Regions from separate parts of the Homo sapiens genome. Here region 1 is linked to region 2. The links are contacts of gene promoters, found by promoter capture Hi-C in blood cells and fetal thymus (Javierre and others, 2016). All regions are on one chromosome and are shown on one strand. Each heading gives the region's core, a stretch centred on a gene start or on the middle of the fragment in contact. The rest is flanking DNA. Distances are from core to core; before and after follow the strand shown. Region 1 overlaps WWP2 (WW domain containing E3 ubiquitin protein ligase 2). Region 2 holds the start of CLEC18A (C-type lectin domain family 18 member A).

Region 1 (5,673 bases), core at 319-2,818, 170 kb before region 2:
CATGGTCAAATCCTAGTCTTTTAGTGGGCCTGTGTCCCAGGCTATGACTGTCACTCATATTTAACTGTTTTTCTCCCCTTAGATGAAACAGAAAGGCTAAAGAGGGCTGGAGTCAGGGGACTTCTCTTCCACCAGGTAGGATAAGGCTCTGGTAAAGTCTTCTTCCCTGGAGAGTAGGCCATTGCTCTGGGCCTATTTCACTATGGTTACTTCCCACAACTAGAGCTAGGAGGGAATCTTTCTTGACTCTTTACCAGGATAATCTTGTAAAGAAGGATTTTTTCTTCTGTTTTATTCAGCAGTATACCACTAGCACCAAAACCAGTGCAGAGTACATAATAGATGCTCAATAAATATTTGTCAAATGAATGAATGCCTCTTATCTAAGCTCTAGAGATTGTTACCTAGATGTGGGAAGTTTCTTAACTTATAATGATAATAGGCCGGGCGCAGTGGCTTACGCCTGTAATCCCAGCACTTTGGGAGGCCAAGGTGGGCGGATCACCTGAGGTCAGGTGTTCGAGACCAGCCTTAACATGGAGAAACCCCGTCTCTACTAAAAATACAAAACATTAGCTGGGCGTGGTGGTGCATGCCTGTAATCCCAGCTACTCTGGAGGCTGAGGCAGGAGAATTGCTTGAACCTGGGAGGCGGAGGTTGTGGTGAGCCGAGATTGTGCCATTGCACTCCAGCCTGGGCAACAAGAGCGAAATTCCATCTCGAAAAAAAAAAAATAAAAAAAATTATAATAAACTGATGACATTTCTCTGAATGAAATTAGTCCCTAGTGTAGTATTTGCTTATTAGGTTCTGTAGTGTTTGTTTAATCTAAAACCCTACCTTAGATGGGATTGTTGTAGACCAGTAGTCTCAAGCTTTTTTGACTGCAACCTTTAGTAAGACATACATTTTATATCTTAAAACAGTATATGTGTGTGTGTGTATATATATGTATGTATATTTATTTTAAAACAGTATATGGATATATATATACACATATGTGTATATACAATACACATATGGATATATATACACATATGTGTATATACAATACACATATGGATATACACATATGTGTATATACAATATACATATGGAGATATCATATATGCACCTATTAATATATATACATGTATATTTATTTGGTAAAACTTTTTGTGAAATAATACTTTCCTTTGTGTGTGATATACTTTTATATTTTCTTTTTTTTTGAAACGGAGTCTCATTCTGTCACCCAGGCTGGAGTGCAGTGGTGCGGTCTTGGCTTATTGCAACCTCTGCCTCCTGGGTTCAAGCAATTCTCCTGCCTCAGCCTCCTTATTAACTGGGATTACAGGCACCTGCCACCACGACCAGATAATTTTTGTGTTTTTAGTAGAGATGGGGTTTCACCCTGTTGGCGAGGCTGGTCTCGAACTCCTGACCTCAAGCAATTCACCCACCTCAGCCTCCCAAAGTGTTGGGATTACAGGCATGAGCCACCGTGCTCGGCCTATATTTTCTTTTAAAAAAATCTTTTTATTTATTATAGTTTGGTATACAACTTTTATAGTTTCTACCCTATTAGTTTGTATTTTATTTTTAAAATGCTTGTCAAGATTTATGTAGAGGATAAGTTCAGAGGAAATATGTTGTTTGTATTTATATTATATATAAATATGTTATTTATATTTTTGAGACCAAGTGTGGTGGCTCATGCTTGTAATCCCATCACTTTGGGAGGCTGAGGTGGGAGGATTGCCTGAGCTCAAGAGTTCCAGATCAGCCTGAACAACATAGGGACCCCCTTCATCTGTACAAAAAATTTAAAAAATTAGGTGAGTCTGGTGGCTGGTGCCTGTAGTCCCAGCCTTTTAGAAGGCTGAGGTGAGAGGATTGCTTGAGCCCAGGAGGTTGAGGCTGCAGTGAGCCATGATTGTGCCACTGCACTCCAGCTTGGGGTGACAGAGTGAAACCCTGTCTCAAATATATATATATATATATACACACACACACACACATGTATATACATACACATAGATACACACACACACACATATATACATACACACTCATACTATAAATAAATATATATATATATATATATTTTTTTTTTTTTGAGAAATTTCAATAGATCTACCAGACTTAGTAAAGGGGGACATTTTGACTTTCCCATCCCCCTCCCAATAAGTCCATTAGTTTCTTCAATAATGAAATACTTTGTTCATCTGGTAACCTTTAGTTATATTTTAAACATTGACCCCCTTCTCCCTCTTCCAGCAAAGCTTATGCTCACTCAGAGTTTTGGAGTGATTAGGATGCAATTACTTTCCATGGCTATTAGCAGGGGAGAAATTACTTGAGTACGTGTACGGAGTCATCTGTTCGTGTTGCTGAGACAGAGTGTGAAGTCTGGGCCTCAGGTTTCCTAAGCTTCTTGTAGTGGATAGTGGGGATTTGGACCTAATACGCATTAGGAACCTTGTCTAAGATGGGAGGCAAAAGCTGAGAGGTCGAAAGTACTTTGATGGGGATGGGATCTGTTCCTTTCTATAGTTACGGTTATTTCTCTTGAGACAGAGTCTCGCTCTGTTGCCCAGGCTGGAGTGCAGTGGTGCGATCTCGGCTCACTGCAACGTCCACCTCCCGGGTTCAAGCAATTCTCCTGCCTCAGCCTCCCGAGTAGCTGGGATTATAGTTGCGCCACCACTCCTCGCTAATTTTTGTATTTTTCATAGAGACGGGGGTCTCACCATGTTGGCCAGGCTGGTCTTGAACTCCTGCCCTCAAGTGATCCGCATGCCTGAGCCTCCCAAAGTGCTGGGATTACAGGTGTGAGCTGTCACACCTGGCCGGTTATTTATTTATTTATTTATTTTTTGAGATGGAGTCTCGCTCTGTTGCCCAGGCTGGAGTGCAATGGTGCAATCTTGGCTCACTGCAACCTCCACCTCCTAGGTTCAAGAAATTCTCCTGCCTCAGCCTCCCAAGCAGCTGGGATTACAGGTGCCCGCCACCACACCCGGCTAATTTGTTATATTTTTAGTAGAGATGGGGTTTCACCATGTTGGCCAGGCTGGTCTCAAACTTCTGACCTCAGGTGATCCACCTGCCTCGGCCTCCCGAAGTGCTGGGATTACAGGCGTGAGCCACTGTGCGTGGCCCCGGCCGGTTATTTTTCTTTATGCATCAATTGGAAAGGTTTTACAATTCCAAATGCCTACATTATATAATGTCAGGGTGGTATCTTGCTCATTAGATCTGGAACTCCAGACAAAGCTCTATAGAATAACATGGATTACTGTTATATAAGCAGTGGACTGCAATTTTAAAAGACACTGGAGAAAGAAAACATGGTGATGTTTTATCTACCCTGTTTCTCCTGCCTTCCCAGTTGCCTTTGTTCCTTCTGAGCCTTCTTTAGAATTTATCTGATTGTTTTAGTTTTGCGGCCCTGAAGTGTAGATCAAAAAGTTTGGTCTTTCTTCTGTTGAACAGGCCATGTATGGGCTTCAAGTTCCATTCTCTAAGAGTCAGGACCAAAGGCTCAAAACTGCTACAGTTCAGGAGAACAAGATAGTTTAAAAACTACCATTAGTTGAGTTGCCTTAGGAAAGAAAGAGTCCCAATAGAAGTAAAGATTTCTAAAATATTCTTTCATTTTTAAAGTCTGTAAATAATGGATTTCCAGCGTTTAGTGCTTTAACCCCTGTTAACTAAAAGCCCCAAGGCTCAATTTATAATTATTTATAATCTTTCCTGCATTATTCAAGATACGATCTTTTGCTTCCCCTTAAAATTATTGTTCAATTATGAAAGAGATCAAACATATAAAATGGTTAGAGATGAAGATAACAAACAGTCATAAAAACCACCATCTGGATTTAATGAATATGAACATTTTGCCATATTTGCCCCAGAACTTTTTTCTTTGAAAGATAAAATGTTGTAGATACAGTTGAGGTTCCTTTGGTCTCTTCCCCACTCCAATTCCCCTGCTCCCTCCTCCCCTACCCTAGAGGGAACTTCTGTTCTGAACTTGGTGTGGTTCCTTCCCGTCGTACTTTTATACTTTTAAACGTTTGTGTGTCCACAACAACAACGTATACAGTTGTTTTGTGTAAGTTCAAGTGTACACCAAAGACATCGTACTAAGGCTGCCACTTGCCTTTTTTTTTTTTTTCCCCTCTTGGCATTATCATTTGGGATTTGTACATGTGGATTAAATTCATATATTTCAGGTACTATATAGCATTCCATTTTAGAAATATATCAATTTATCCATTCCCCCATTGATGGGTATTTAAGTTGTTTATAATTTTTTACTATTACAAATACTGCTATGATGAACATCCTTGAACATGGCCTCTTCTGTGTGTGTTGGAGAATTTCTCCCTCTGCAAATGCCTGGGAGTAGAATCCTGGTGGGTCCAAAATTACGCGTCTTTAACTCTGCCGGAGGTTGTCAGCTGCCATCTAATGTGCGCTGCCTCCACAGGCATGTGAGACTTCTCTCCAACACTAATTGTCAGGCTTCTCATCTCTTTCTAATCTGATGAGTAGCAAAGAGAGTTGATCTTTTTACTGCTTTGCCAAGACAAATTTAGTCTAAGTGAGTCAAAACATCATCTTTTTGGCCTGGTGAAATGGCTCATGCCTGTAATCCCAGCACTTTGGAAGGTGGGGCTGGGAGGATTGCCTGAGGCCAGGAGTTCAAGACTGGCCTGGGCAAGATGGTGAGATCCTATCTCTACAAAAAATAAATACATAAATTAATAAAAAAGGAAAAAAATCAGCTGGATGTGGTGGCAAATGCCTGTAGTCCCAGCTACTCAGGAATCTGAGGCGGAAGGATCACTGGAACCCAGGAGGTCAAGGTTGTAGTGAGCTATGATCATGTCACTGCACTCCATCCTGGGTGACAGGGCTAGACCCTGTCTCAAAAAAACAGGTTGGTCCTGTGGTAGTGGGTTATCAGAACTTATTAACATTAGTGTCACTAAAGTTTGTATACAACCCCTGAATGCTAAATTTGGCTTTAAAAAAGGAAAAAAAAAGAACTGAGATGGGAGTCTGTCTGCACGTTCAAGGGATAGTTGAACAGTGAGGAGGCCTGTGTGGCAGTAATCACAGCATGATGAGGGTGGGGGGATACTGGGGAGCAGGAAGTGGGCCATGAGGTCAGAGAGGGGTGTGGAAATGGGGGAAGGTATTGCATAGGACGTCAAAGTTCATTTGCAGGTCTTTGGCTTTTACTCTTTTTTTGTTTTTGTTTTTCAAACAGGGTCTCACTGTGTCACCCAGGCTGGAGTGCGGTGGCACAATCTTGGCTCACTGCAGCCTTGACCTCCTGGGCTCAAGGGATCCTCCCAACTCTGTGGTCCTGATTAGCTGGGTCCACAGGCATGTGCCATCACACTCAGCTAATTTTTGTATTTTTTTTGGAGAGATGGAGTTTGACCATGTTGCCCAGGCTGGTCTTGAACTCCTGAGCACAAGGTGATCCGCCCGCCTCAGCCTCCCGAAGTGCTGGGATTATAGGCGCCCGCTGGCTTTTACTCTGAGTTAGACGGTGTCTTAGTTCATTTTGTGTTTCTATAACTGGATAATAGAAACGGGATAATTTATAAAGAGACTAGGTAATTTATAAAGAAAAGAGATTTATTCTTTGTATTTGAGTCTGGGAAGTCTAA
Region 2 (5,768 bases), core at 313-2,812:
GAGACCAGCCTGGGCAAGACGATGAAATCCTGTCTCTACCAAAAAAAATGATAATAATTAGCCAGGCATGGTGGCACACACCTGGTCCCAGCTCCTTGGGAGGCTGAGGTGGGAGGATCACTTGGGCCCAAGAGGTCAAGGCTGCAGTGAGCTGAGATTATAACACTCCAACCTGAGTGGCAGAGTGAAACTGTCTAAAAAATAAAAATAAAAATACATCAAAAAACAGGTAGCTATTAAGCATTGCTAGGACCCACACGCAGTGACCCTGAGGGTGCTGGGTTTCTGTTTGAGGGAGAAGAAACTCCTGAGCCCCTAGGTATTGTGGGGGACATGCAGTTCCAGACCGCCTTCATGGCCTGTATGCCTGGCCTCATCCCCATCCCTGGCATCCATGACGATAGCCACATTCCACTGGTGTTTCCCCAGGAAAGCCAACCCTACCTGCATCTCAGCAGAGCTTCCACAGAGTTGGAACCCCGCTCCGAGAGGGTGTGGGCTCAGGGGCCAGGGGTCACACAAACTCCAGAAGGAGGACGTAGTTGGTTTGCAAGGCTGTCCTTTGCCCTGGTTGAATAACCTTTGGTCTTCCCCGAGAGGAACGTGGGCATTAGGTTGCAGCCCGCAGGAAGCCATGTATTTTCTGAGAAACTTGGCCCATGGTGCAGATCTGCTCCAGCTCACTCTGGTGGGATCACGCCAGCCACGGCCGGGCCACGGCACATCATGGCAACGTGCTGCCCACCTGCTACGCCGCCTGTTTTTCTAGAGGCGGACGTGATCCCAGCAGGACTGGAGTCAGCCCAGGGCATCACGTGCTCTGGTCCCCGCCTGCTTTGACTCCTCCTGCCTCACTCCCCCCCTGGCCTGTAGTCACGTGGGTGAGGGTGGTGGGCACCGGGGCTGGGCCCAGCCCCCGACCCTGCCCAGACAGACTTTCCTAAGGCACCCTTTTCCTCGTGCAGGTGCGGCCTCAGCCCACCCCCCTTTGAGCCCACAGATTGCACCCCTCTGGTGTGCGGTTACCTCTTGCCTATGTTTAATTCATGGCTGGGGGGTTGGGACGAGCTTCCCAAGAAAGGAAAGAACTCCCCTGGGGTCTTGCCCAGTTCCTGCTCACCAGAAGGACCATAGCCGAGGTCCTCCTCCCAGGGCCCGGGGCTGGGGAGCGGAAGCCATCAGTGGGCTCGGAGGACACTGTCCCAGCCAGGACACGGCCATCGGTCACTAATCTGCAGCACTGGAATGTCCGCGGGCCAATCAGCGGGGTCTCTGGGGGCTCCCCAAGGGTGCTAATAATCCCACAATGATTAGCAGGGGCCGCGGGTCAGTGCACGCCACTCTGCCTGCTGTCGGGGGCGGGCTGGCCAGGCCGAGGCCGGAGCAGGCAGGCATCCCCCGGAGTTGTCTCTTTTCATGCCAGCGCCAACAGGAGGCTGTCTGGACACACTGATTACTCACTCACCAGCCTCCCTCTTTTGTCCACCAGCCCAGCCTGACTCCTGGAGATTGTGAATAGCTCCATCCAGCCTGAGAAACAAGCCGGGTGGCTGAGCCAGGCTGTGCACGGAGCGCCTGACGGGCCCAACAGACCCATGCTGCATCCAGAGACCTCCCCTGGCCGGGGGCATCTCCTGGCTGTGCTCCTGGCCCTCCTTGGCACCGCCTGGGCAGAGGTGTGGCCACCCCAGCTGCAGGAGCAGGCTCCGATGGCCGGAGGTAAGGGACACCTGGTGAGGAGGTAGGTGGAGGCACCATTACGAGCTCTGAGGAGTGGGTGCTAGGAGACTTCTGGAAGCCCGGTCCCAGGCCTGAGCCCCAGGCCGTGCGGGTGGTTTAATGAGGAAGCCCTGGGACAGCCCGGGGGCGGTGAGGGGTGGATGCTGGACTGGGGAGGAAGGAGGAGGAAGGAGGACCAGGGCTGGGGTCAAGGAGGAACGCCGAGGGGCGCTGTGGCTGGGGCCTGGAGAAATCCGTGGCCCGGAGGAGCCCCAGACAGGGGCCTGCGGGAGCCAGGGCTGGCCCCTACACCCAGCCCGCACCGCTGTTCCCTCCCGCCACCCCAACCCCAGCACTCAGCCCACGCCTGCTGTACCTGGTCTCTCTCTCAGCCTCGCTCCATTGCTATGCCCCACGTCCCCTGCACCCACCACACTCCTCTCCCATCTTGTTTTCCAAGGGCAGGGACACATGCTTATTCTGCCGTGTGTTGGGTTCAGGTCCCCCCATCCTCGGGCTGCCTGACCTTCTCTCCCCACCCCAGCCCTGAACAGGAAGGAGAGTTTCTTGCTCCTCTCCCTGCACAACCGCCTGCGCAGCTGGGTCCAGCCCCCTGCGGCTGACATGCGGAGGCTGGTGAGTACCCGACCCAGCTGGGCTCTGCCAGGGGGGTGGCCGGAGGCGCGGACCCCAGAGGGCGGCTCAGGAGGCCACGCCTGTCCAGGTGCCCTTCCACTTGACCAGGGTGGGCAGGCACAGCCAGCCACCTTGTCCCTGAGGGACGGAGGCCCTGGTTGCTGGGGGTCTCTGCAATTTCTTAACCCCCCACCCTCAGTTCAGGAGGTCGGGCCCCTTGGCTCCCACTCGCCTGAAGGGCAGGACCTTGGGCCTTCCCTGGCATCTTGTTGTCACAGAGACCAGGAGCCACAGGAGGAGCCGGATCCCCTCCTCCAGGGAAGGGGAGCTTCACGAGGAGCCCTGCAGGATGGGCGGCCGGGCCAGGGAGGGAGAAGGTCGTGCTGGGCTGGGGAGGGGCTTCTGTGCGGCAAGGACCCAGCGCCTCCTCCTGAGCTTATCTGAGCCACGAGGACGGGCCTTGCCCATGTTCTCTGCTCACTCACTCGTCCACATTTTCCACATTTTCAGCAGGGGCCGGGGGTCGGGGGTATAGAATTCCCCACCAGCCCGGCTGGGGCTGCGGGGTTGGGACTGTCATCTGGAGGCTCAGAAACGCTGCCCCCCCTTGTCTGGGACCCCAGCAGCCCCAGCCCATGTTAGCAGGCCAGGGAGCCAGGGCAGGGTGGTGGGGGCGGGAGGGTTCCCCATGGCTGCTTCCCATGAACTCCTCCAAGGCAGGCGGCCACAGTGGCGACCTTGAGCACTCTAGGGTCAGTTTCCCAGGAGGTGGGGGTGGGGTGGCTAAATGCGGGGGGTCGCTTCTCCCCGATTCCCAGCCCTGAGTGGCTCTGCCTCTCCTCAGGCTCAGACCCTGGGCAACCAGGGGTGCTCCCAGCTGTGACCTCCGTGGTTGGGTACTCCTGCCTGGGACCCCAGGAGGGGCTGCGGTGGTCGTTGGCTGGCAGCTGGCACCCTTTCCAGGGCCCTTTTGTCAAAGTCCTAGAAAACTTCATTTCCGTAAAGGTGCAAATGGAGCTCCATGGCTCAGCCTCCCTCGTGGCCCGGCCCCGAGCACCCTCCGGGCCTCTAGGGCTCCAGGGCACCCCCTCTTTGGACACAGTGGAGACTGAAGGTCTTGTGGGGGTGGAGGGCTGCTGAGGGACCCCGGGGAGCCCCCAGCTCCTGGCCCCAGCCTTCATCAGAGGTAAAACCCCGATGGACATTAGTGCAGGATGAAGTTGGCTTGGGGTGCAGCCCCGAGGGGCCCCCCTCCCTGCATCCACTCAGTGCTTGTGAGTCCTATCCTGCAGGCACCTCCCTGCTCCGTTTACAGATGAGCTCAGGGAGTCTCGGGAGATCAGGGGACTGCACCAAGTCACCCAGGGGTGGTGATTGCCAGGCCCACTTGTTTAAGAAGAGGGAGGGGGCTGGGCACGGTGGCTCACACCTGTAATCCCAGCACTCTGGGAGGCTGACACAAGCAGATCACCTAAGGTCAGCAGTTTGAGACCAGCAATGGCCAACAGTGAAACCCCGTCTCTACTAAAAATACAAAAATTAGCCAGGCGTGGTGTCACATGGCTGTAATCCCAGCTGCTTGGGAGGCTGAGGCAGGAGAATTGCTTGAACCTGGGAGGCGGAGGTTGCAGTAAGCCGGGATTTCTCCACTGCACTCCAGCCTGGGCGACAGGGTGAGACTGTCTCAAAAAAAAAAAAAAAAAAAAGAAGAGGGAGGGGGCGGGGTCAGCTGTGCGTGGTGGGGAGCATATGAGGCCGGGCTCCTGGGGGCAGGAGACTAGGGCAGAGAGGCGTGGCTGTAGGGCTTTTTGCATCACAGGAGGGCAGCATGGCCGGGTGGGAGCAGTGGAGCCTTTCTGACAATGGCCAGGGCCCAAACACAGAACCAGTCTGCAACGCGTGGGCACTGCTCACATGACCAGATGGGAGAAAGACAGCAGGAGCGGGTCCCATTGCCTGGGCAGGGCCGAAGGATGCCCACGACAGGATTTGGAGATGGAGGCTCAGTCGTGAGAGGAGCTGGGCTCCTCCTGGAGGGACATCAGACAACACCAGTGCTTCCTCCAGCAGGACTCCTCATCCAGTGCTCTCTTTGCCACCTGACCTGGCACCCGGTGGATGCTCAGAGATGGCAGGGGAGTTGAATCTTTGAGGCCTGGCCCAGCAGTCAAAGGCCTCCCACAGATGTCTGTTTGTGCTGCCCCCAGGACTGGAGTGACAGCCTGGCCCAGCTGGCTCAAGCCAGGGCAGCCCTCTGTGGAACCCCAACCCCGAGCCTGGCGTCCGGCCTGTGGCGCACCCTGCAAGTGGGCTGGAACATGCAGCTGCTACCCGCGGGCTTGGTGTCCTTTGTCGAAGTGGTCAGCCTATGGTTTGCAGAGGGGCAGCGGTACAGCCACGCGGCAGGAGAGTGTGCTCGCAACGCCACCTGCACCCACTACACGCAGGTGAGTGTGCTGCAGGTGAGGCCAGTGTGCCAGCTCCCAGATACAGACTTCCACTGGGCCATCTCAGAAGAGGCTACAGTTTGTCCTAAATGTTGGGATTCCTTTTCCTCCAATTGGTTTAGTTTTACTTTTTTTTTTTTTTGATACGGAGTCTTGCTCTGTTGCCCAGGCTAGAGTGCAGTGGCGTGATCTCGGCTCACTGCAACCTCCGCCTCCTGGGCTCAAGTGATTCTTGTACTTCAGCCTCCTGACTAGCTGGGACTACAGGCATGTGCCACCAGGCCTGGCTAATGGCTTTATACTTTTAGTAGAGATGGGGTTTTACCATGTTGGCCAGGTTGGTCTTGAACTCCTGGCCTCAAGTGATCCACCCACCTCAGCCTCCCAAAGTGCTGGGATTACAGGCATGAGCCACTGTGCCCCGCCACATTTTTTCTTTTTTTGGAGACATGGTCTCACTCTGTCACCCCAGGCTGGAGTGCAGTGGTGTGATCTCAGCTCACTGCAACCTCCGTCTCCTAGATTCAAGCGATTCTTGTGCCTCAGCCTCACAAGTAGCTGGGATTACAGGTGTGCGCCACTACACCCAGCTCATTTTTTTGTATTTTTAGTAGAGACAGGGTTTCACCATGTTGGTCAGGCTGGTCTCGAACTCCTGACCTCAAATGATCTGCCTGCCTCAGCCTCCCAAAGTGCTGGGATTACAGGCGTGAGCCACCATGCCTGGCCTAAGCCACTTTTTTTCAATCTGAAATATAAATAATTTCAAACATAAACGTATTTATTTATTTATTTGAGACAAAGTCTTGTTCTGTCACCCAGGATGGAGTGCAATGGCTTGATCTCGGTTCACTAGAACCTCTGCCTCCCAGATTCAAGTGACTGTCCTGCCTCAGCCTCCCAAGTAGCTGGGACTACAGGCACGAGCCACCACACCCCACTAATTTTTGTATTTTTAGTAGAGAT

The links. Contacts are between HindIII fragments. The CHiCAGO score rates a contact against its expected background, and 5 or more counts as called.
Region 1: a fragment that was not itself captured here is called in contact with the fragment with the promoter of CLEC18A in region 2 in 1 of 17 cell types (endothelial precursors); the score reaches 6.8 in endothelial precursors.

The regions. Positions count from the first base shown.
Region 1 is chr16:69,776,107-69,781,779 of GRCh38, forward strand. All of the region lies in intron 1 of WWP2 (WW domain containing E3 ubiquitin protein ligase 2), which reads left to right. Among named protein-coding and RNA genes, the nearest start is that of WWP2, 17 kb to the left of the region's middle. The HindIII fragment of the contact is 1,389 bases long and covers 875-2,263 here.
Region 2 is chr16:69,949,772-69,955,539 of GRCh38, forward strand. It overlaps CLEC18A (C-type lectin domain family 18 member A), which reads left to right and starts at 1,563. Exons shown (of 12, transcript NM_001370523.4): 1 at 1,563-1,719; 2 at 2,264-2,355; 3 at 4,563-4,802. The coding sequence starts at 1,596. RefSeq lists enhancers at 270-883, 884-1,496, 2,723-3,336. The HindIII fragment of the contact is 42,237 bases long and covers 1-5,768 here.